Linked DNA regions of Homo sapiens: regions 1, 2, 3, 4 and 5 are each linked to region 6. Evidence: promoter capture Hi-C in 16 types of primary human blood cells and fetal thymus (Javierre and others, 2016). All regions are on one chromosome and are shown on one strand. The core of a region is centred on a gene start or on the middle of the fragment in contact, and the rest is flanking DNA. Distances in the headings are between cores, read along the strand shown.

Evidence for each region. Contacts are between HindIII fragments. The CHiCAGO score rates a contact against its expected background, and 5 or more counts as called.
Region 1: a fragment that was not itself captured here is called in contact with the fragment with the promoter of PRPF39 in region 6 in 17 of 17 cell types (total B cells, monocytes, total CD4 T cells and 14 more); the score reaches 18.4 in total B cells.
Region 2: a contact is called between a fragment that was not itself captured here and the fragment with the promoter of PRPF39 in region 6, in 17 of 17 cell types (activated CD4 T cells, naive CD4 T cells, total CD8 T cells and 14 more). The highest score is 20.7, in activated CD4 T cells.
Region 3: a contact is called between a fragment that was not itself captured here and the fragment with the promoter of PRPF39 in region 6, in 2 of 17 cell types (total CD4 T cells and monocytes). The highest score is 6.6, in total CD4 T cells.
Region 4: a fragment that was not itself captured here is called in contact with the fragment with the promoter of PRPF39 in region 6 in 3 of 17 cell types (monocytes, M2 macrophages and total B cells); the score reaches 8.5 in monocytes.
Region 5: a fragment that was not itself captured here is called in contact with the fragment with the promoter of PRPF39 in region 6 in 14 of 17 cell types (neutrophils, total B cells, naive B cells and 11 more); the score reaches 11.5 in neutrophils.

What each region holds. Positions count from the first base shown.
Region 1 is chr14:45,239,315-45,243,645 of GRCh38, forward strand. It overlaps MIS18BP1 (MIS18 binding protein 1), which reads right to left. Exons shown (of 17, transcript NM_018353.5): 3 at 3,447-3,560; 4 at 2,720-3,204. Among named protein-coding and RNA genes, the nearest start is that of MIS18BP1, 12 kb to the right of the region's middle. The HindIII fragment of the contact is 547 bases long and covers 2,225-2,771 here.
Region 2 is chr14:44,929,618-44,933,538 of GRCh38, forward strand. KLHL28 (kelch like family member 28) reads right to left here. Exons shown (of 5, transcript NM_017658.5): 4 at 1,716-1,924. Among named protein-coding and RNA genes, the nearest start is that of KLHL28, 30 kb to the right of the region's middle. The HindIII fragment of the contact is 1,071 bases long and covers 2,094-3,164 here.
Region 3 is chr14:44,876,980-44,881,288 of GRCh38, forward strand. No RefSeq gene overlaps it. Among named protein-coding and RNA genes, the nearest start is that of DORIP1, 18 kb to the right of the region's middle. The HindIII fragment of the contact is 3,926 bases long and covers 1-3,554 here.
Region 4 is chr14:45,286,428-45,290,631 of GRCh38, forward strand. It overlaps the pseudogene DNAJC19P9. Among named protein-coding and RNA genes, the nearest start is that of MIS18BP1, 35 kb to the left of the region's middle. The HindIII fragment of the contact is 3,362 bases long and covers 1-3,359 here.
Region 5 is chr14:45,266,802-45,270,881 of GRCh38, forward strand. LOC107984674 (a long non-coding RNA gene) reads left to right here. Exons shown (of 4, transcript XR_001750746.2): 3 at 1,828-1,887; 4 at 2,570-2,908. Among named protein-coding and RNA genes, the nearest start is that of MIS18BP1, 16 kb to the left of the region's middle. The HindIII fragment of the contact is 6,569 bases long and covers 1-4,080 here.
Region 6 is chr14:45,081,608-45,086,164 of GRCh38, forward strand. It overlaps PRPF39 (pre-mRNA processing factor 39), which reads left to right and starts at 2,509. Exons shown (of 14, transcript NM_017922.4): 1 at 2,509-2,642. PRPF39-DT (PRPF39 divergent transcript) reads right to left here and starts at 2,419. Exons shown (of 2, transcript NR_184211.1): 1 at 1,865-2,419; 2 at 1,441-1,780. RefSeq lists a silencer at 2,214-2,503. The HindIII fragment of the contact is 5,294 bases long and covers 2,187-4,557 here.

The DNA.
Region 1 (4,331 bases), core at 1,248-3,747, 160 kb after region 6:
TAATTACTATGAAAAATAAATAAAAGGCATTAGATAAATGAGGTGCTTTTTAAGACAAAACAGTCAGGGAACGTCTTGGAAGAGAGAACTGAATAAAGTGAGCAATGAGTCACATGGATATCAGCAAAAAGATTCTTCTAAGCACAGAGAGTCAGCGCAGAGATCCAGGTAGGCAGCATGGAAGGCATAATTTGAAAGGAGTAAGTGAGAGGGAATAAGTGGTGAGGTTGGAGATCTCCAGGATTAACTAAGTACAGCTCGGTAAACCATGGTAAAGGCTTAGTGTTTTCTATTGAGATGACAAGTTACTGGGGATTCTGAACAGAACGACAAAATTTGATATTTTAAGGGACTGTTGGGTAGAGATGAGACTATATGAAGATTTTAGCTTGTCTGGAAAACAGACTGAAAAAGGAGAAAAGCAATACTGGAAGCAGGGAGACCACTAGGCTATGACAGTCATCCCTGGACTAGGAGGTAGTGGTTGAACAGTGAGAAGAGGCCGCATTCAGGAGAGTAGAGCCAATGGGATTTCTTCATGGTTTGGATGTGGAGCATGAGAGAGAAACAAGAGTCCAAGATGAATCTAAAATTTTGCCTAAATACTGGGGCCAATGGTATTACAATGTACTAATACAGGACAATGGAGAAGGTATGGTAAAGAAATCAAGAATAAGAATCTCACATTTTCTCACATTTTCAATTTGAGATGCCTATCTGATATCAATAGAAAAGTCATATAGACAACTGCACATGAGTGTGGAGTTGAGAAGAATTTTCTGTGCTGGAAACATATTGGAGAGCTATCAGCATAGAGATGGAATTTAAAACTATGACACTGGAAATACAGCCTAGAGAGTGCGTGTAGGTAGAAAAACAATTTCTAGGGCTGATCTGCAGTAATTCCAACATTTTTAGGACTGATTCTGGGGAAAGAAAGAGGAAATAGCAAAGAGGACTGAGAAGGGATGGGCAGCAATGTAGCAGAAAATCAGGAACGATCCTGGAATACAAAATATAAAGCGTAACACTTCTTTAGAAAGACATTTTGGGGCCAGGCGTGGTGGCTCACACCTGTAATCATTTCCTTTTACTTTAGGTGGTAAGGACATTGCCCTTTCAATTGCCCCCTCAATTTTCTCCCTACCTACACGCACTCTCTAGGCTGTATTTCCAGTGTCATAGTTTTAAATTCCATCTCTATGCTGATAGCTCTCCAATATGTTTCCAGCACAGAATATTCTTCTCAACTCCAACCATGAATACACAGACCTCTTTCAAATGTCTTGCTATATAAGGGAAACAAAAAGTAGTGTAGCAGCTGGAGTTGGACAGGGGATAAAGGAAAGATGGGCCTTTGTTTGCATGTTTTTAAAAAATGCAGGCCATGTTTCAACATGTTTATATGTTAATGAGAATAATCCAAAAAAAAAAAAATTTAGCCGGGCATGGCAGCATGTGCCTGTAGTCCCAGCCACTCAGGAGGCTGAGGCAGGAGATTTGCATGAACCTGGAAGGCGGAGGTTGCAATGAGCTGAGATTGTGCCACTGCACTCCAGCCTGGGTGACAGAGTGAGACTCTGTCTCCAAAATAAATAAATAAATAGATAGATAAATAAATAAAGTTTAAATATTTTCCAATAATGGGATTTCTAGCGAATATATTGAGATATAAAACCATAACTGGTATGTCACTCTTTAAAATTTAGATGGCTACAAGGGAGGCTTAAGTGGGAGGATTGCTTGAGCCCAAAAGGCTGGCCTGGGCAACAGAGTAAGGCCTCATTTAAAAAATTAATTATTAATTAAAATTTAGATGGAATTTATACATGATCTCAACTTGATAACCACCATCATACATTTAAGAATTAATGGCTGGATGCAGTGGCTCACGCCTCTAATCCCGGCACTTTGGGAGGCCGAGGCGGGAGGATCACTTGAGGTCAGGAGTCAGAGACCAGCTTGGCCAGCACGGTAAAACCCCGTCTCTACTAAAAACACAAAAATTAGCTGGGCATGGTGGCAGGCGCCTGTAATCCCAGCTACTCAGGAGGGTGAAGTAGGAGAATCGCTTGAACCCAGGAAGTGGAGGTTGCAGTGAGCCAAGACCACGCCATTGTGCTCCAGCCTGGGTGACAGAGGAAGACTCCAGCTCAAAAATAATTAATTAATTAATGGGCAAACCTCTAACAATTGGAAATTTTACACTGCATCTTCCTCCTTAAGCTTGTATTTCCATTCCACTTCCTTCAGAGAATTTGTCCTAATGTAACAGTTTAATGCTCTAAAGTCTTTCATTGATTACTCTGTATTTAATTTGGGAAAAATTCTCAAATCTTCAGATGCTACAGTTCCTTTCTATCTTAATTAATCTAACTATTTTAATAGTACTGTAAGTATCAGAAAAAAAAGAGTAGGAATGAATTCAATGTTCATCACCAAAAGGAACAAGTAAATTATTGAAGACTACACAACTAGTAATAGAGCAAAATAAGACTTAACATGTGGGTCTTCTTACATTCAACTCACTGTTCTTTTCACTATGTCACACTGTCACTGCAGTAAATAATAAAACATGATAATGAAGACACTGTTAATAATGAAGCATACAGGTTCAAATCCTAGCTAGAAAAAAAATAATGAGAGAACATTAAAAGCTCAAGCTCTTGAAGAACGGGGTAAAAATAGAAATAAATATCTGTCTTAAAAGTTTTCCCACCTGATTTTTTTTAAGTCCATTTGTAACAGTTTGAAATATTCTTGGAGGAGAAAGCTTTGAAATATTTCTTTTTGACCTCCGAGGTATTGTTATATGAAGTCTTGGTGTTGCAAGTACAATTTTACATGTATCTTTCATGGAACCTGGAAGACCTGTCTCTCCAGGCACTGTTTTTCCATTTCCTTCCTTAACTTTCTGTTGCGAAGTCCCTTCTGTTGTCCTCTCACTATCAGAAACCATTAACAGGCTGCCATTTTTAATAGGAATACAATTAGTACTGAGAGTCTCAGCATTAGTATTTTGAAATTGTTCATCAGCAGAATCAACGCTTTCTAAAACAAACGTGTCCTTTTTGGATTTAGTGGTTGCAACTATACTCTCCTTTGAGTGAAAAATTTGTTTAGCCAACTGAGCTCTAGTTAATGTCTTGTTTCGGGCTTCTACAGCCAAAAAATTTTCCTGTTCTTGGTTCAGAGTTGGAAGTTCTGCAAAAAATACAAAACAAAACAAAACAAAACAATTATAGAAGGATCACAGGAAATTAAAAGAGATAAATTTAGGTTAGGAACGTTCCACCCTCCTGCCCAGTCTTTCTCTGAGTGTCTCTTTTACGATTCAAGCTTTTGTCCACAGCTAAAGTTTAATGCCCACACAAGGAAAGTAATTACCTAGAACATTTAACAATATACTTAAGTAACAAACTGAAAACAAACCAAAAATAGTTTACCGTAAGTTAAATTGTGCAGTGGTGCTTTCTTTTCCTGCTGGCACTGAATCTTTTGTTTGACCGGGAGGAAAATATCATTATTTGATGATTCTAGAGGAACTCCTTGGACTGAGGCTAAGGTTTTATTTTTTAAAGAAAGAAGAAGTTGAATTGTATTAGTCACTAAGAAAAAAACAGCTTTTAAAATTCTTGAAATAAAGACACTTAGATTTAGTAATGATCAGACCAGTATAGTACTTTTGCAATATATGACAGTTACATATATTTTTATATTTTTGGCTGTATTATCTTCTCATACCTTTACCCCATTCTCTATACCAACATTACGGTGAGGAAGAATTTTTTAAAACCTTCTCTGAACACAACCCGCCAGCTCTAGACAAAAGTATTGGACTTAGAAACCTAGAGATCTGAAATTCTGGTGCTGCCACAAATTGGATATGTATATGTTAAGATTACAATATAAAGTTTCACCCAGTCTTGAAAATTCCGATTCTGTTTCTGGTTGCTGTGAATTTCTAAAGCATGAAAGATAGTCGAAGAATTGTAACTTATTCTTTAAAAATTAAAATGTTGAGATGCAACAGCAGACTCAGCCATAATTTATATCCTTTAGACAATTTTTAGTAGGCCTTCAAATGCTCAGAAGTTGTAGGTTTCTCAACTAGATAAATAAGGACTAATAGCACTGCTTGCATCTTATTCTGCTTTACCTCCTAGATTTTTAAAGTTTAATGTTTCTCGAATGTAGTTTCTTTCACACAAAAAGGGGATGATAATAGACTTAAAATTTGAGCCTGAGAAGAATTATCTTATATGTTTAATTTTAAATTTTATACTTGAAAAAACTGGTAGTGACTATGCTTTAATAAGTATGCCACTTTG
Region 2 (3,921 bases), core at 1,379-3,878, 150 kb before region 6:
TCTTGGAATATATATCTCCTGTGGGTATGGGGGGCCTACTGGAGCAATATGAGCTTGATGGAAAAACAAAATCCTTATAATAAAAGTAAGAGTTACTGAGGTGAGAGGATGGCTGGAGGCCAAAAGTTTGAGGCAGCGGTGAGCTATGACTGTTCCACTGCACTCCTGCCTGGCTCGACAGCCTAGGACCCTGTCTAGACACTGAAATAAAATAAATAAAAGCAAGAGTTGAAGTCTTCCTTTACCTCTCCTCTCTAATCCTACTCTTCCTTTCCCTTCACTACAGGAAAATGGAGTATATATCTTTCCATAGGCTATTTTTTTTTAATTTCATTTCATTCTAGAAAAATCATTTTATGAGGTTTTCAAATACATTGAAATATTTAAAATATATTAAATGACATAATTTATGCTTCTAAAAATTCTACTTTAGATATTATCTTATATAGTTCTAAAAAGAAACAGTTTACTCCAATTTTTAAAGTTCTCATTGTTTCTGTGGCTTTCCCTCTCAAGGATACAAAAGAAACAAATTATAGTAAACACTAAAACAGTTCATTTCAGCTTGTCTTTTCAGTTTCTCTTGCATGTTTGTTTCAAAAGGTTCTTTAATCATAAATATAGGTTGAACATCCAATACCCAAAAAATATGAAATCCAAAGTGCTCCAACATTTGAAACTTTTTTTTTTGAGATGGAGTCTTGCTCTGTCTCCCAGGCTAGAGTGCAGTGGCGCGATCTCGGTTCTAGCGATTCTCATGCCTCAGCCTCCCGAGTAGCTGACACTACAGGCATGTGCCACCGCACCAGGCTAATTTTTCATTTTTAGTAGAGATGGGGTTTCAACATGTTGCCCAGGCTGGTCTTGAACTCCTGACCTCAAGTGATCCTCCCACTTCGGCCTCCCAAAGTGCTAGGATTACAGGTGTGAGCCACACCGTGCCTGGCCCAACATCTGAAACTTTTTGAGCACCATATGATGCTCAAAGAAAGTGTTCACTTAAGCATTTCACACTTTAGATTTTTGAACTTGGCATGATCAACCTGGTAAGCATAATTCAAATATTCCAAAATCCCAAATCCAAAACCTGAAACACTTCTGGTCCTAAGCATTTTGGATAGGAAATATTCAATCTGTATGAGGAGTGCTCCCTAAAGCATTTCTGTCAGTATCTTAAAACCTTTCCCTTAAAATGATGTGATGAGTTTGAGTTCAAAGATAACAATTTTTCCTAAACCACAAAAGTGGATTTGTTTTGTTTCTACGAACTCTGAAATACAACCCTTTTTGATCAACTATACCCCCTGGGGAAGAAAGAACATTTGAAAGTGAACATACAGATTACTGATATACAATAGAAAACAAAACAGAACAATCCGAGGATTGTATGTATGTAACATATGAAAAGATGACATTTGTTACATGGACAAAAGGAGCTTCTATAAATACACACTCTAGTATAAGCATTTCCCAAAATGTATTCAGCAAGTTTGAGAAACAATAATATGCACATTGGCATATAAAAGTCACAATAAAGAAATCTATATACTTTTGTCTAGCTAATTGTCTTTCAAGTTTACCACATACAAGTCTTTTTTTTTTTTTTTCTGGACAAGTAATATTCCTACTGCTATATTCCAAGGAACTATTATTGCAAGCACATCATTATAGAAAACATTGCCTTACATGTTTAGAAATTAATAAATTCTTATTACCTGTTCTAGGTTCTTTCATTGGTCTACACACAGTCCACTGATTTTGATGAGGATCGTATCTTTCAATGCTGGACAAATGTGAGACTCCATTATGTCCACCCACCACAAAAATAAAGCCTAGCATGACACCCACGCCAAAGTGAATCCTTTTATCTGCCATGGATGCAACCATCTCCCAGGAGTCCTTACTTGGATCATAACGCTCCACACTGCAAATATTTAAAAAAAATTTAATTTACAGATCTTTTGTGTCATTCTTCCTGTCAAAGCAAAACTAAAACCCACTACAGCTTTAAAAGTTCACATAATAGAGAGATATTAAACAAGAGTAGTCTGCCACAAATGCTTAGGTTTTGCTGATAAGATTGCAAAGATAAAAGCTTACCTTGTAAACAAGGTGCAATTCCATATGCTATTCCATTATATTGTGCAAGCGGCAAAGTATATTAAGAGCATAGAACTTGGAGTCAGAAGACCTGGGTTCAAGTACTAATTCTGTATACCTAGGGCTGAACGAACCTTAACCCTACTGCTGTGGATTTGTGTAATCCTGAATAAGTCATTTCCTCTCACCTGCAAAAATGAGGATAGTGCAACCTGAAGGGATTCATATAAGAATAAAGTCAAATGAGTATGCACGTGACTTTGAAAACCACTAACTGAATACAGACTTTTTTTTTTTGTTCCTAAATTTTATTTATTTATTTTTGAGGCAGGTCTCGCTCTGTCACCTAGGCTGGAGTGCAGTGACAAGATCAGAGCTCACTGCAGCCTCAAATTCCGGGGCTAAAGTGATCTTTCTGCCTCAGCCTCCTGAGTAGCTAGGACTAAAGGTACATGCCCCCATGCCTGGCTTGAATACAGAGGTTTTTAGGATCTTCTATACAGTTAAGGGGAAAAGAAGAGGAAGAGAGGGGTGGGGGGTGGGGAGAAAAACCTTTATTTTTTTTCGTCACAGGAGAATTCATGTGGCTTACTGCAAAGCAATCACTGTAGATTGCATAGTACAAACTGGCTGATCATAATTATCTCAGGGTGATTTAGGAGTACTCAGGAATTTGAGTCAAGACTGTGTTTCAGAGAACGTGTGGCATTTCTAAGCTGCATTATGGAATCCAAATTAAATCAGAATTTTCAAAAAGGCTTCCCTAGAAAATTCTAGCAGCTGTTTAAGACTATGGTTTCCTCTGAAGGTGCACAAAGGCACAGAGGTAAGATTGTTGGGCTTGTTCTGGCCCTAACCTATTTCCTGAAAAAACCATAAGCATTTAACAGGCTGTGACACCATTCTGGAGTTCATAATAGAGACTGGGTAATGTTTCTGAAAGAACTCCAGGATAGAATCCATTAGACCAAAATCATTGAAGAAGAGTTGATGCACTGCAGCAAGACTTTCAAGATAATCAAATTTAAAATACTTAACCTTTTATCTTACAAATTTTGGGCAGAAGCTTTTCAAAGAATAGAAATGCATGTCTATGTCCCATATTTTTCCTTCAACTAAGGGCAAAAAATATAAATAAATAAAAGGAGGAATACTTTGGCTTCAATAGAAGTAAAAATTTACAGATGAAATGCTGTTGTGCCATCACTTTCTCAGTCAACAAACCTCAGTATTTGTAGAGGATTGGTTCCAGGATCCACCCCATCCCAAGGATACCAAAATTTGCAGATGCTCAAGTTCCTTATATAAAACAGTATAATATTTGCATATAAGCTACACGTATCCTCTTGTATACTTTAAATCATCTCTAGATTACTTATAATACTATGCAAATAGCTGTTATACTGTATTATTTTGTTTTTTATTATTGTAAATTTTTTCAAATATTTTTGATCCACAGTTGGATGGATCTGTGGATGTAGAACCCGTGGATATGGAGGGCTGACTGTATGCCCTGTCATTAAAATACTCACAATCAAAATAACACAAACCACTCTAATTACTATTAAAGATACAATCTTTTCTTTTCTTTCTTTCTTTTTTTTTTTTTTTGAGACAGGGTCTCACTCTGTTGCTCAGGCTGGAGTGTAGTAGTGCATTCAAGGCTCACTGCAGCCTCAACCTCCTGGGCTCAAGCAATCCTCCCACGTCAGCCTCCCAAAGTATTAGGATTACAGGCGTGAACCACCACACCTGGCCAAAGATAAAACCTTTGGAACATCAATTTTCAATAAAGGTTCAGAATTACGATTAATTTCTCAT
Region 3 (4,309 bases), core at 342-2,841, 210 kb before region 6:
AAGCATGGCAATAGCTGGATCCTCTGGCCCAGGGTCTCTCAAAGGCTGCAATCAAGATGTCAGAGGATTGAAGAGCTCTTAAGCTCCAAATAGCCAGCGATACCAGCGATACCTAGGTATGCAGTGGGCCTTCTGTGAGACTCTGAGACTAGCTGGCTTCAAATGAGACTCAGCACATTTCCAGCCATGGTGGCTATGGGGAGAGACTCCTTATGCTGGAGAAAAGTAGAGGGAAAAGTAAAGGGGACTTTTGCACCTTAGGTACAGGCGCAGCCATAGTGGGGTAGAACATCAAGCGGGCTCTTGAGGTCCCTGATTCAAAGCCTTGGCTCCTGGACAGTAATTCTGGACCTGCCTTGGGCCAGAAGGGAGCCCACTGTCCTGAAGGGTGAGTCCCAGGCCAGGCAGCATCTACCACAAGCCGACTGAAGAACCCTTGGGTCTTAATGAACATCAGTGGTAGCCGGGCATTACTCCCTGTGGACCTGTAGTGGCAGTAGCCATAGGTGAGCTTCCTCTGCCTGTGGAAAGGGGAGGGAAGAGTGAGAAGGACCACGTCTTATGGTTTGAGCACCACCTCAACCACAGTACAATAAACATCAGGTAGACACCTAGCTTTTTGACTCTAGTCCCTGGCTCCCAAATGGCATCTCTGGACCCCCGCAGGGCCTGGGGGAACTCATCGCCCTATAGGGAAGGACATATGCCTGGCTGGCTTCACCACCTGTGCATTGTAGACCCCCAGGCCATGAGAAGACATAGGTGGTAGCCAGATAGTGGTTACAGTGGGCCTTGGGCAAGACTCAGTACTGTGTGGGCTTCAGGTCTCACCTAGCATAATTCCAGTGGTGGTGGCCATAGGGCTACTTATGTTACCCCACCCCCAGCTCCAGGCGGCTCAGCACAGAGAAAGAAACTCCATTTCCTTGAGAGAACGTAAGGGAGGAGATCAAGAGTCTCTACTTGGTAATCCAGAGAATTCTTCCAGATTTTATCCAAGACTATCAAAGTTGGTACCTCTATGAGTCTGTAAGAACCATAGCATTATTGGGCTTGGGGTGCCTCCTAATGCCAGTACAGCTTAGACCATGACACCCAGGTGATTTTAAATAGCTGGGAGACCTTCTCAAGAAGGATGGATACAAACAAACCCAGACTGTGTAAACTACAATAAATGCCCAACTGTTTAATGCCCAGACACAGACAAACATCCACAAGCATCAAGACCATCTAGGAAAACATGGCCTCACCAGGCTAAATGGGGCCCCAGAACTAAATGGGGCACCAGGAACCAATTCTGAAGAAACAGAGACATGAAACATTTCAGACAAAGAATTCAAAATAACTGTGCTGAGGAAACTCAAAGAAATTCAAGATAAAGCAGAGAAAAAAAAATCAGAATTCTATCAGATAAACTGAAGAAAGATATTTAAATAAAAAGAATCAAAAAGAAATTCTGGAGTTGAAAAATGCAATTGACATACTGAAAAGGCAGAAGAAAGAATGGGTGAGCTTAAAGACAGGCTATTTTAAAATAGACAGTAAAAGGAAACAAATGAAATTAAAAAAAAAAATAAAGCATGCCTACAAGATCTAGAAAATAGCATCGGCCAGACACGGTGGCTCATGCCTGTAATCCCAGCACTTTGGGAGGCCAAGGAGGGAGGATCACCTAAGGTCGAGAGTTCGAGACCAGCCTGACCAACATGGAGAAACCCCATCTCTACTAAAAATTCAAAATTAGCTGGGCGTGGTGGCACATGCCTGTAATCCCAGCTACTGGGGAGGCTGAGGCAGGAAAACTGCTTGAACCCAGGAGGAGGAGGTTGCGGTGAGCCAAGATCATGCCATTGCACTCCAGCCTGGGCAATAAGAGCGAAACTCCGTCTCAAAAGCAAATAGCGTCAAAAGGGCAAATCTAAGAGTCGTTGGTCTTAAAGAAGAGGTGGAGAAAGAGGGGGGTTAGAAAGTTTATTCAAAGGGACAATAACACAGAATTTTCCGAACCTAGCAAAATAAATCAATATCCAAGTACAACAAGGTTATAAGACATGAAGCAGATTTAACCCAAAGAAGACTGCCTCCAAGCAATTAATAATCAAATTCCCAAAGGTGAATGAAAAAGAAAGGACACTAAAAGCAGCAAGAGAAAATAAACAACATGCAGTGGAGCTCTAATATGTCTGGCAGCAGACTTTTCAGTAGAAACTTTATGGGCCAATAGAGAATGGCATGACATATTTAAAGTGCCAAAGGAAAAAACTTTCCTCCTAGGATAGTATATTCAGCGAAAATATCCTTCAAACATGAAGCTGGAATAAAGACTTTCCCAGACAAACAAAAGCTGAGGGATTTCATCAACTCCAGACCTGTACTACAAGAAATGGTAAGGGGAGTACTTAAATCAGAAAGAAAAGGATGTTAATGAGCAATAAGAAATTGTCTGAAAATTTAAAAACTCACGGGTAAGTGCATAGAAAAACATAGAATACTATAACAATATGACTGTGGTGTGTAAACTACTCTTATCCTAAGTAGAAAGACTAAACAATGAAAAAAAACTACAACTTTTTAAGTCACAGACAGTATGGTAAGCTACAAATAGAAACAACAAAAAGTTAAAAAGCAGGGGGAGGGGCTGGGTGCAGTGGCTCACACCTGTAATCCAAGCACTTTGGGAGGCTGCGGTGAGTTGATCACCTGAGGTCAGTAGTTTGAGACCAGCCTGGCCAACATGGTAAAACCCCGTCTCTACAAAAATACAAATAAAAATCAGCTGGGTGTGTTGTTGCATACCTGTAATCCCAGCTACTCAGGAGGCTGAGGCAGGAGAATCACTTGAACCCAGGAGGCGGACATTGCAGCGAGCCGAGACTGTGCCACTGCACTCCAGCCTGGGCAACAAGAGTGAAAACTCCATTTCAAAAAAAAAAAAAAAAAAAAACCCCAGCAGGGGGAGGAAGTTAAGGTGTCAAGTTTTTATTAGTTTTCTTTTCACTTGTTTATGTAAACACTGTTAAGTTGTTATCAACTTAAAATAATGGTTTATAAGATAGTATTTTTAAGCCTCATGGTAACCTCAAATCAAAAATCATGCAACAGATACACAAAAAATAAAAAGCAAGATACTAAATCATACCACCAGAGAAAATCACCTTCACTAAAAGGAAGACAAGAAAAAAGGAAAGAAGAAAGCAAAGACCAGAAAACAAATAATGAAATGGCAGGAGTAAGACCTTACTTATTAATAATAACATTGAATGTAAATGAAGTAAACTCTCCAATCAAAAGACATAGCCTGAGGCTGGGCTGGGTGGCTCATGCATGTAATCCCAGCACTTTGGGAGGCTGAGGTGGGCAGATCACTTGAAGTCAGGAGTTCAAGACCAGCCTGGCCAACATGGTGAAACCCCATCTCTACTAAAAACATAAAAATTAGCCAGGTGTGGTGGCATACATCTATAGTCTCAGCTACTCAGGAGGCTGAGGTGGGAGGATTGCTTGAACCTAGGAAGTGGAGGTTGCAGTGAGCCAAAATCATGCCACTGCACTTAAGCTTGGGTGACAGAGTGAGACTCCATCTCAAAAAAAAAAAAAAAAAAAAAAAAAAAAGACATAGACTGGTTAACTGTATATAAAAATAAGAACATTGATCTGTTGCCTACAAGAAACACACTTCACCTATAAAGACACATGTAGACTAAAAAAATAAATGGATAGAAAAAGGTACTCCATGCCAATGGAAAACAAAAAAAGAGCAGGAGTTACTATACTTATATCAAACAAAATAGATTTCAAGATAAAACTATAAAAAGAGACAAAGAAGATCACTATATAATGATAAAGGGGTCAATTCAGCAAGAGGGTATAACAATTTTAAATATACATGCACCCAATACTGGAGCACCAAGCTATGTAAAACAAATATTATTAGAGCTAAAGAGAGAGAGAGACTCAAATTCAGTATTAGCTGGAGACTTCAACACCCCACTTTCAGCACTGGACAGATCTTCCAGACAGAAAATCAAGACAAAAACATTGGACTTAATTTGCACTCTAGAACAAATGTACCCAATAGATATTTACAGAACATTTCATCCAATGACTACAGAATACACATTCTTTTTCTCAGCACATGGATAATTCTCAAAGATAGACCATACGTTACAACACAAAACACATCTTAAAACCGTCAAAAAATTGAAATAACAGCAAGCATCTTCTCTATGATAGAATAAAACTAGAAATCAATAACCAGAGGAATTTTGGAAACTATACAAACACACAGAAAGTAAGCAATATGTTTCTG
Region 4 (4,204 bases), core at 429-2,928, 200 kb after region 6:
TTGGTTTATGGATGGATCAGCTCAGTATGTAGATGAAAGTCAAAAATAGCCCTACTCAAAAGTTGCTTTGAAAAGACAGAAGGTTCTTAGAACCATCGTCTAATACATGCTTTGCCCAAATGTGTTTCTCTCCCTGGTCTCACCAATACATTTTTTTCCCTCCTAACCATAGCTCTTGCTTCATTATATTTTAAAACCATTAACCTCTCAAATAATTTTATGGAATCCACTTACTTACCTCTTTTAAGAATTATCATCCATAACTTTGTCAAGTTTGAACCTTTTTAGAGAGAGGACCTTACTCAACATGTAGATTGGTTACCTTTTTGACCCAAGAATTGTACATCATTGCCACAGCTCACGACCCTGCCAGTGTAATTTGTTTCTTGAGATATGGGGTAGTTTCATAAGACTTGGCTACTTCAGGGTTTTAGCTCTGTGGTGATTAAAGGAATAATATTTAACCCAGAAATACTTATTAAACCTGCCAATCTGTTAAGAAAAAAGAACATTGTTTAGGATATCTTTTGATAGTAAAAGGAAATGCTTTAGGAGGACGAAATAGGTTGGAAGTTTCTGATCAGGCTTTTATATTAAAAAAAAAGATAAATGTAGGGAGAAGAAAAGGAAGTTACTCATGGAAACAAAGAAATTGGGCCTTAAAATCAGAAACAGACCTGGGAGCATGAGGCCATTTATATTCGTGGCCTTTCTTTTTTTTCTTTCTTTTATTTTTTTTGAGACGGAGTCTCACTCTGTTGCCAGGCTGGAGTGCAGTGGCGCGATCTTGGCCCACTGCAACCTCCACCTCTTGGGTTCAAGTGATTCTCCTGCCTCAGCCTCCCGAGTAGCCGGGTCTACAGGCATGCGCCACCACGCCCAGCTAATTTTTGTATTTTTAGTGGAGACGGGGTTTCACCATATTGGCCAGGGTGGTCTTGATCTCATGACCTCGTGATCTGCCCACCTCGGCCTCCCAAAGTGCTGGGATTACAGGTATGAGCCACCGTGCCCGGCCATTCATGGCCTTTCTACATGAGCACTGTGAAAGAAATTCTGACATCTCTTAAACAAGTATGCCTTTTCTCTTGCTAATTAATTTCTGGAATTTTGTTTCAAGTCTGACTTGAGAATGCTATGAAATATATGTTATCTTGTAAAGCCAATCCCATTCGATCAGAGGACAGTTCAAGTTGATTATTATTACTGTTAGTAGTATTATTATTTTGTTCTACCACAGGGCATTTCCCTCCTATAAATGTGCACAAACAAGGTATATAAAGGAAGTTTCTCTAGAACATATTAAAATGAACAATTTACCTTAATCTATGAATTTGCCAGACTCAGAAGAAGCATTGGAATTTAACAGGTTTCCACTAGATGGCAAGCCGCCTCTTTGAATTTCTCAATGGCATCAAGCAAAAATATTGCTGCTGTTTAAAACGTACATCTTTGCATGAGACAGCTGCACTTGTATCAAAAACTAATAAAGGCACTGATTCATAAATTTAGCCAAATTTAGAATCAAGCTATTCAAACTGAAACTGAAAATATATTGTAATGTTTAAAAGTTTTATTTGGAGAATATGTATTCATTTATTAATTTAACAAATATGAAGTGCCTCCTACGTGTTTTTCATGCTTTGTTTCATTTGTTCCCCCTAACAATGAGATTGGGTGTTCTTATTAGTCCCAATTTAGAGACTGGGAAACTGAGGCTTAGATAGATTAAATGATTTAGTAGTCCAAGATATACAGGTTTAAACCTACACAGTTTGTCCCAGAGCCGGCTCTCCTAACCACTACATCTTAGTGCCCACCATAAATAAATTACAGTAAATCAGTGTAATATGTGTAGCACTGTGTCATGTTTAAAAGGATTATTTTTTATTTTCTTCTTACAGACATTAGCAGAGTTAAATCTTCTGGCATGACCTTTATGAAAGACTGTGTATAAACAAGTAAAAATGATTGCAAAACACACTATATTAGAGCAAATAATGTCTGTACAGTGTTGCCTATATAAGCATATGCAAGATGAAAGGAAATGGCATAAAACTCTGCAAAAATACTACAGAAAAAGACAAATGTAAAGAGACAGAGTCAGAGAGAGACTGAGAGAAACATACATGTGAAAGAGAAATGATGAAATCATCTATAAGAAATCATAATTTCTGGCCGGGCGCAGTGGCTTATGCCTGTGATCTCAGCACATTGGGAGGTCGAGGTGGGAGGATACCTTGAGCTCAGGGGTTTGAGATCAGTCTGGACAACATTGCAAAACCCCATCTGTACCAAAAAGTACAAAAATTAGCTGGAGGTGGTGGTGCATGCCTGTAGTTCCAGCTACTCGGGAGGCTGAGGTAGGAGGATCACTTGAGCCCAGGAGTTGGAGGCTACAGTGAGCTGCGATCATGCTACTAGACTTCAGCCTGGGTGACATAGTGGGACCCTGCCTAAACAAAAAAAAAAAAAAAAAAGGAAAAAAGAAAAAAGAAAGCTGGGTGTGGTGGCTCATGCCTGTAATCCCAGAATCCCAGCACTTTGGGAGGCTGAGGCGGGTGGATCACCTGAGGTCAGGAGTTTGAGACCAGCCTGGCCAACATGATGAAACCCTGTCTCTACTAAAAATACAAAAAATTAGACGGGCATTGTGGTGGGTGCCTGTAATCCCAGCTACTTGGGAGGCTGAGGCAGGAGAATCCCTTGAACCCAGGAGGCAGAGGTTGCAGTGAGCTGAGATCGCGCCACTGTACTCCAGCCTTGTCAACAAAAAAAAAAAAAAGGAAAAGAAAAATAATAATTTCTGTAACAGAAACTGTTTCCTTGTTAATGTCTCTTGCTGTAGAAGAATTTTTCACAAATAGAAATTCAGTGAAATGAAAGTTTAAAAGACAAGAATATAAAACAACAGAATGAAATTAAAAGGGAAGTGCAAGGTCAAGGAAACTCAGATGTAAAGCAGAATTTTAAATCTAATAAATATATTAAAAGAATAAAAAGCAGAAGAGACATAGTTAAAATTTAAATTAATGTGATGGAAAAAAGGCATAAGTTACAGTGAATGAGAAGCAAGATGGAGATGAAGGCAATTAGGAAGAGGCTGTAGACATGGATGACTGACAAAACAATAGGCATCTCTGAAGTAGACAACAGATGGTGAGAAAAAGTATTCAGAGATATAATAGTGGAAAATCTCTTTCATAATAAAGCACACACGTCTAATAGGAAAAATTGATACTGAATTACCAACATTGAGAAGTGCCCTGTATGTTACCAAGCATCAAGATTTTAACAACAAAAAAGAATTCTTCAGACATCAAGTAGAAAAAGCAAGTTACTTAACAAGGGGAAATTCAAGCTTGTGTCAGACTTTTTACAGAAACATTTAGCACTGGAAGAAATAGAGGTGTCCACCACATTCTTGGACAAAATATTATATTCATCTATGTTATAATTCAAATATAAAGTATTCAGGGGATAAACATTTAAGAATTTTTTTTTAGGGGTTGCGTTGCTCTCTGGTAGAGGCGTGCAGGTGTTAGCCACACCCTCTGAGCTGGGATGAGCTGTGCTCCTGGTGGAAGCAAGGGAGCCCAGCCGAAGCCATGGCCAGTACAGTGGTAGCAGTTGGACTGACCATTGCTGCTGCAGGATTTGCAGGCCGTTATGTTTTGCAAGCCATGAAGCATATGGAGCCTCAAGTAAAACAAGTTTTTCAAAGCCTACCAAAATCTGCCTTCAGTGGTGGCTATTATAGAGGTGGGTTTGAACCCAAAATGACAAAACGGGAAGCAGCATTAATACTAGGTGTAAGCCCTACTGCCAATAAAGGGAAAATAAGAGATGCTCACTGACGAATTATGCTTTCAAATCATCCTGACAAAGGAGGATCTCCTTATATAGCAGCCAAAATCAATGAAGCTAAAGATTTACTAGAAGGTCAAGCTAAAAAATGAAGTAAATGTATGATGAATTTTAAGTTCATATTAGTTTATATATATGAGTACTAAGTTTTTATAATAAAATGCCTCAGAGCTACAATTAAAAAAAAAAGAATTTTTTTTTTTAAAACTCTAGTCAGATGAAGTCCAGCTAATCCAGAAACTAATACAAAAATAGAGAACCCAGGAATAGAAACACACATCTAGTGAGAATAGCAGTAAATTGGCTGGGCACAGTGGCTCATGCCTGTAATCCCAGA
Region 5 (4,080 bases), core at 962-3,461, 180 kb after region 6:
CTGTCTTGAGAGAAACAGAAAGATTGCTATAGTATATTGAGAATCGAGCTAAAGTTGGAGTTGGGATTTGTAGTTGCACCAGTTTACAGGATTGATTGTTTTTATTTCTAATAAATTTTGTAAGGGAAAATATTAATCCAGGCCTAGAGTTATTTTGGAATGGATATAGCAGAATGAAAAGAATACAGAGGAGTTATAAAAATATAGTTAGGTGAGTGGTTCAAATGATAGACTTTTTAAAAAAATTTTTGGATGAATGGTAATAAAAATAAAGGCAAGAGAAGGCTATTAGGAATATTATTACAGAAGGATCAAGAGACAAGAGGTCTTGAGGGGCTTGAAGACAGTAATAATTAATCAAATAGAACTGGAAGGTTTAGAGATAGCCATGTGACATATTAGAGTATAAATGATTCAGAGATATGGCCCATTCCTAGACAGCTTGAAAGTTGATGAAATAGTTATTTATAGTTCAATTACATGTGAGCTGAGGTTGGGGTGATATGGGAGGCCTGGTGGTATTAATAGTAACTATGTCTGTAATGCCTATTATAACTAGTATTTTGGTTACAACTAAAAGTGAAGTGGGCTGGGGAGGTGGGGGCATCTATGATTTATATCATGTGACTTTATAAAGTGTATTGTGTTTTCCCATTTAAGTTCATACTAATAGGTACAAAAGGCATACTGAAGCTAGCTTGAATTCAAAGAAATGGAATTCTTTTATTAAAGAGTCTCAAATTATTAGGAGATACATAGGAGATGGCTTGATTTTCCCAGTTCCTACTTTTGAGTGTGGTATGTCAAATCTCTCTCTCTCTCTCTAAGTAGTGGCTACTTTGAAAATATATTGGCCTACTCTGCCCCTGCAGATTCCTGCCTCTCAAAGAAATCTCAATATTATATCCCCTTCCCAATCTTGGGGGAAATACTGTAAGTCTCTCTCTACTCCTGCTGCTTCCATCTCCTCTCCATGCTGAGATGACTCCTAGGACATATAATTTTGGGGAAGAAGGAATGAGATGCTAACACTGACATGGTTTTTTTCTTGCTAACTCATCTAGCTTCACAGTGAGTGACTCAACTGCAGTGTTTGTGGGGGTATTTATTATAGGCCAAGAGGGCAGAATGCCCATGTCTAATCTAATATTTGACCTGGGGATAATATCTGGGCCTCTTCAACAACCACCTGGGGTGAGGCCTGAGGTCATGCCTGGTGATACATAAACCTGCTAGTGTTTTTGTTCTTGTTTCTGATTGTTATGCCAATTGACCTAACTTCTGGATCACCTTTCATACTTTGTAGTTTTATTTTTTTTATTTTTGAGACAGAGTCTCACTCTTACCCAGGCTGGAGTGCAGTGGCATGATCTCAGGTCATTGGAACTTCTGCCTCCCGGGTTCAAGTGATTCTCCTGCCTGAGCCTCCCGAGTAGCTGGGATTACAGGTGCCCTCCACCACACCTGGCTAATTTTTTTTTTTTTGTATTTTTAGTAGAGACAGGGTTTCACCATGTTGGCCAGGCTGGTCTCGAACTCCTCACCTCAAGTGATCTGCCTGCCTCAGCCTCCCAAAGTGCTGGGGTTACAGGTGTGAGCCACCGCACTGGCCAACCTTGTGGTTTATGTTGAAGTTGTCTGCTTATGTGACACCTGCTATCCCACAGCCCTTGATGTCCAATTTAAACAGGCACCTGCTTGACTCTCTAGTCAGCTCATCACGTGCCATATTACCAGCTCCTAGAGCATACTGTATAGTCTGTATAATTTGTTTTAGAATATTCTAAATGTCTCTTTTCAGTAATTTTTTTTTTTTTTTTTTGCCAGTGAACAGCCCTTCCTTGCTAACAAAAACAAACAGTTAAGCGATGGCTTTGATGCACTGAGGTAGGTTCTGACTAGGGCTCTCCTGCAGCTTAGCTCTGATGCCATCTTGTGGTCAAATGGGTATCTACACAGGGAGCCTTTTATTCTGGTTTTGGCTGTTGCCCACTACCATGCTAAGATCAAAGGCAGATTTGCTCTGTTTTTGTTTGTTTGTTTGTTTACGTTTTTCTTTTGCTGTGGATTTGTATTTTGTTTCCCTCATTGGGGGAGGGGAAAACTCAGAGTTCAATGCCCTCTACACTGACCAGTGGGTTGAAGGGAAGCTCTTTCCTTGCACCTCAGGGACAATTTCACCCACATTTCCCACAGCTATTTCCAGCTCAGCATTTTCAGAATAGAACTCTTTATCATTGTTCCCGCCTCACCCCCTTCCTTCCGCCAGTGAATCTCATTCTTAAATTCTGTCATCTTCTACACTTTATCTCAGTGAAAGGCTGTTTATCCATTGCTAAGTAAGAGGCCCAAGAGCCAATCGGGACTGTTTCCCCCCTATTCCCTCATTCACCTATTCTGCCTCCCAATAGCTGCTAATTTTTTGTCCATTTCCTCCATTCCTTCACCACAGTCTGAATCATGGCCTTCAATATTTCTCACTGAAACCATTGCAGTTGTTTGTCTCTGTCATGTCTTTATGTCTTCCATCTTCTAGCCTTGCCTACATTTTCCTTCATTTTTATTCCAGCATTGATTGAAACTGAAACTTGAAATCCTTCAGTGCCTCTGCAGAGCCTACGGTGTAAACTCCAAGATCCTTGATATGAGTTACAAGATGCTCTTTTGAGTTGGCATTTGTCTCTTCTGGGCCTACTCTCCATTCACTCCCCACCTCACATGTAACACCTAGTAGCACTTAGTTCCTGGAACACAATTAACTGCTTCATGCCTATGGGCATTTGTTCATGCTTTTCCCTTTTGATTAGAAATAAACCTCTGTAGGCCTTTCTCTTGGGCTTGTTCAGGTGGTCCAGTAGAAGCATCCTGCAAAATTGCCAGAGGGTATGTGACTTTGTGGGCCTATAAGAAACAGATGGATCTGGCCGGGCACAGTGGCTCACGCCTGTAATCCCAGCACTTTGGGAGACTGAGGTGGGCAGATCACCTGAGGTCAGGAGTTCAAGATCAGCCTGGGCAAAACGGTGAAACCCCATCTCTACTAAAAATACAAAATTAGCTGGGCGTGGTGGCATATGCCTGTAATCCCAGCTACTCGGGAGGCTGAGGCAGGAGAATTGCTTGAACCTGGGAGGCACAGGATGTGGTGAGCCGAGATCATGCCATTGCACTCCAGCCTGGACAACGAGCAAATCTCCATCTCAAAAAAAAAAAAAAAAGAAAAAAGAAAAAAAGAAACAGATGGATCACTCAAAGGGGAAATTGCAAAGAGCAATGAAAGGATTCCTTGAAAAGAGTTTAATGAGGGAAACATTACTAAACCTTCACAAACAGGAACAATCAAGAGGTGGTAAACACTCCAGGACTAAAAACAGCTGAAAGCCATTACCTCTCCTAGGCCTAACAGTATACTGGAACTTGGAATGATCTGTAGTTGTGTGTGAGAGGGCGTCCAACAGTTGCTGTATCTGAAAGTAGAGAAGTGCAGTCACTGCCAAAAATTGCAAGGGAAGGGGAGAAAGAGAATAAAAGCTCAACCCATCTCTCCTTTTACCCTGCAATCTTATGCTGGTGGCTCTCATTGGCTGAGTCCAAATGCAAGCCAGAGGCTAAGGGAGCCTAGCTGATACAGTCCACAGAAGTCAATTTCTCAGAGCCAGGGAGAGAATGGCAGAGAAAGGACCAGGAGAGGCAAACAGAGTATAAATCTGTTAACTGGTGTTCTGTGAGACAAACTGGGGAAGAGGGTTAGGGGTGTCACCTTTTAGTATAAAGACTTTCAATTAATCACCTCTTAATTAATCAGCTGCAAAAGGTGTCCCCAAATTTTGGGCTAAGGAAAGAGGACTGAGAAATGATTTTTTTTTTTTTAAATACAGACTTTCAACCATTTCTTCTGTTTTAAGCTCAACTCTACACTTTGCCTTCAGATGTATCTGGAGCCTCCAATTCCTGAAACTTTCTGGGATTTGCAAAACAAATCAGCTTATTTATTAGCTTACTTGCTCCTAAAAGTGAGATCTATGATATCTCTTTTCGATTAGGTCAGTTTTCACAAAAATATTTCATTAGAGACACATT
Region 6 (4,557 bases), core at 1,259-3,758:
CACCGCGAGGGTCCGCGGCTTCATTCTTGAAGTCAGTGAGACCAAGAACCCACCAATTCTGGACACACCACTACCCTCTAAACTACATTATTTGGTATAATATCTTTTTTCTTCCCAAAGTTTATAATTGTGATACACAATTTTAAAAAAGTCAACTAAGGGTAAATCAATTTTTTTTTTTTTTGTCTTTTGTTTTTGTTTTGAGATGGAGTCTCACTCTGTCTCCCAGGCTGGAGTGCAGTGGCACCATCTTGGCTCACTCCAACCTCTGCCTCCCGGGTTCAATTAATTCTCCTCCCTCAGCCTCCTGAGTAGCTGGGATTACAGGCGTGCGCCACCACACCCAGCTAATTTTTGTATTTTTAGTAGAGATGGGGTTTCACCATGTTGGTCATGCTGGTCTCGAACTACTGACCTCATGATCTCCCCGCCTCGACCTCCCAAAGTGCGCTGGGATTACAGGCATGAGCCACCACGCCCTGCCGGCTAAATCAGTTTTTAAGATAATGTATGTTTCTGCCAGCGGGGATCACATTTTAGGCAAAGAGAAGAGCCCACTTAAAGGTTTCCACGCATAAAAGGGCTGTGGGAACAGTAGGTTCTGTGGAGTTACGGGGAGGCAGAAACAGTGAGAAGGCTGGCATGATTATGAAAACACCGTATTTTCCATTCTAAAAGTTTAGGATTTCTTTAAAAAAAAAAAAAAAGTGGAGGAGGAAACCAGTGGAGGTTTTTAAGCGGGGGAGTGAGAGCAATAGCACCGGCTTGAAAGGTAAAATGTAAAAACTAGATAAAGGAAAACAACGAATCCACAGTGAATGAAGTTGAAGATGCAAGTAGATTTTTATAAAATGGCTATTTGAGTGAATGACATCTCAGAGATAATCTTATTTACTGATAAAGAAATTGAGGCCACCTTAGAAAGACCAAAGAACCAGAAAAGGAGTGAAGGTCATGCCAAACAGTCCCTGCGTAACAGTGCCAGCAGCAAACTCTGGTCTGTCTTCCCAACGCACCACTCCCTTGACTATTCTTCCCACAGTAAACATTTAAAAGCTGCTGTTTAAACCTGTGAAACAAACAAACAAAAAACATGGCCACACTGTCAGAGAATCCAAAAAAGTTAGCTTGGAAAGTAGAAGAGGCAAATGGAAAGGGAAAGCTACTACTAGGTGCAGTGTGATGCAAGTAAAAGGTAGGAAAAAAGACTGAATTTGGTATTTCGAACGAAAGGTGCTGGTGAGAGGATTTATGATTAACCTGCGTTGTGACAAGAAACGTCGTCTTGTAAATAAGTATTTCCAGAGGAGACAGATTTCAGATGAGGAACTTGGAGCCCAGTAGTAATACTAATGCACCTGGAACAACAGATTACATGGTAAGTGACAGGTGAATGCGGGGGCACCAATGTAACAGAATCTTAAAGGGAGAGAGGCCAGATTTGAAAGAAAATTTTTTTTTATTAAAGTGGAGATGGTGGTACAACTGAAGAGGACTGCTAAGATTGTTAACGCACAGTCCCCCTCAATTTGTCCAGAGGATAACATATCCCTTCAGATACAAAGATTTTTTTTTTTGCTTGGCCAACTTTAGTCAGGTTTCTGAATCTTCTGCTAGGCTCTTCTGTACACTTTCTTTGTAAAATCCAGTTTAAGCAAAGAACTTTGCTAAGTCAGATTAGCAATAAACCCCCATCCTTGATAGCTGATCATCCTCAATATCTGATCAGGTTCTTCAGTCTCCACCATCCCCCAGGTGATGCCTCATTATCTTGGCCTGTCTTCAGCAAAAATCCTATTAGGTGGGTTTAGCCAAAATCCCCCTTACCCTGATGTTTCCTCTTAGTAATTATACATTCACTTACCACCGCTCCTTGGCTATAAATCTCCACTTGCCCATGCTGTATGAGGAGTTGAGCCCAATATCTCTTTCCCTACTGCAAGTCTCCATTGCAGTCAGTGGTCCCTATACCTGTTGCGATGGTCCTGAATAAAGCCCTCTTTTTGTGCTTTAACAAGTGTCACTAAATACTTTTTTCTTTAACAATAGCCCGTTCTCCAAACCCCTAACTCCAGAACTGTTTAGTTTTCAGGAAACCTGAGTGGGCCCAGGGTCTATACCATCGTGAGATTTGTGGGTTTAAGGCTGAATTTCTGCCCGTTTTTAGGTAAATGTTTTAGTGTGAAAGCTTGAACAATTGTAGGGAAAACCTTAGATTTGCCCCCAAAAATGACATTTTGCCGTTTTTGGTGGGGAGGGGTCAGGGCGCTGTGTTTAAGATCAGGCGTGTGAAAGCCCCTAAACGCCCTCCTTTCCTTTGGGAAGTCCCTATGGAGGGAAAGGCAGGTAGGCGCAGCGGTCCCCGCCCTCGCTCGCGGCGGGGCGGGGCGGGGCTGCGGGGGCGGGGCTGGGGCCGCACGGGCAGCGAGGATCCCTGGGAGGGCCAGGCCTGCGCGCTGCGAACCCACGTGACTTTTTCGCCTCCAGGGACACTGACGCATGCGCATCGTGCCCTGGACCAGGCGGCCGTGGCGCGGGTGGCGGCTGCTGTGCTGGCTGTGGGGACGGAGGCGGTGAAGTGCCATCTTCGGCTAGGTCGTCACAGGCTCCGGCTCATGGCATCAAGTGGCATCCATCATAAGGTCTGCTGGGGCGGGCTCCTTGAAATTAGCTGGGGCAGAGGGTGGTACTTGGTACTGAAAGGGGCCTGCCGGGTTTCAGGCCGCGCTCTGGCCGCGGCCTCCCTCTCCCGCCCTGTTTGAGGCCTGGCTCGGATTCAGCGCTCAGCTGTCCATTCCTTTCTCCTTCCCACCTGTTGGGTGGAGCGGTGCAAGGTATTTTTTTCTTAGACCAAACGTTTCACTTGAGGGGTGCGTTAGGTAGGGTGGAGAAGTGTGGGCCTCCTTCGCCTGGATTTAGGAAGATATTTGGGGGTAATTCTAAAGCCCTTGCTTCTCCCGGAGCTGGAACACGGCTGGGGTGGCTGGAAGTGGAAGGAGCACATTTGCAGCCGCCAGAGGATTGGGAAGATAATATACGTTCTATTACTAAGGCATGTGAGCGCCTTGTAGGGCACGTTCTGTCTTCTGACTACATAAGCAACACTTTTGCGACCCTAAGTCACAGCACCCACAGCTTTTGGCAGGATACTTTAAAACAGAAAAAACACATCATTGATCCTGGCAGGATTTTTTAAGGGATTGTGCTTAAGAATGTTTAACTTTGGTAATCAGAGACCACCACTGGTGTTTTTCTCCAAAATCACATCTTTAAGTTAATTAATACTTGAAGTTAATAAATAATACTGCTCAGTGTATTAGTAATGATGCCATAATACCATGTGAATTTATGCTGATTCAAATGTTGTTTTTTTCGTTTGATACTCATATGGCCTTCTGTTTGAGGACTTCAGATTATTTAGCAACTGATTTAATCTGTTCAGAAATAAACTTTGCTACAGCTGGAAAGCGTGAGGCTTGAGAAAGCAAGTTTTGGACAGGGACGTATGAAGCTCATGTTGAAACTTAAGTGTTTTAGGCTGTATGGGAGCTTGAATGGAGTGAAAAGAACAAGCGTCTACTGTCAGGTTTTCCTCCTCCCTCTAGATTTATAACCTCATTCTAGAGTTGCAAAAGTTGGAACTTTCCACTGTTCACTCTCTAGTAGGGATAAAGTGATGGAAAGGAGTTCTGTTAAAGAGGACTAGTACTTAGATTGTGAACTTTGAAGTAGGGGTTGAGCATAGATGGCTCATAGGTGGTATGAGACACTATTTGTGTAAAGTCTCAGAATATTTTTCCTTGCTTATAATTGAATAAGAAAGAAGATGTTTAAAAGTCAAATGATAAAAATTGTATGTGCTGTTTTCTGTGGTATGTTTTAACAAATCTACATGGAAGATAGGACTTCAAAAAAAATTAAAAATAGCCGAAGGAGGAAGAAGGTAGTGTAGTTCCAGCCAAATGGTACGTTTTCCAAAAAGCCGAAGATTGATGTAGACGTTTATGTAAATACATATACAAAATCTAGTTTCTGGAACACAGTGTTTAATATGTAGAGACTTTAAAAAGTCGGCGTGTGACTACTTAGCCCTTAAAAACAGCTGCCAAAACCAGTGGTTATGATAGTCTCTTTTCTTCTTACATCCCAAATCTCCAGATTGCCTTGTGGATGAGATTTGCTTATTGCAAAGCTACTTGTTTTGCTCTACCCAAAACTCCTTTCAGTCTTTAGTGATGACTTCAGATTTTTATATATTGCTGTGTTTATGAAAAAGAATAGTCAATGGTATAATTTTTAAGTACCTCTACAGGAATAAGAGGCATACAGAAAAAAAAAAAAAGGTATTAGGTCAAAAGATGGCATTTCACTCTCGTTGCCCAGGCTGGAGTGCAATGGCGCTATTGGCTCACCGCAACCTCCGCCTCCCGGGTTCAAGTCATTCTTCTGCCTCAGCCTCCCCAGTAGCTGGGATTACAGATGCGCGCCACCACGCCTAATTTTTTGTATTTTTAGTAGAAACGGGGTTTCACCATGTTAGCCAGGCTGGTCTAGAAC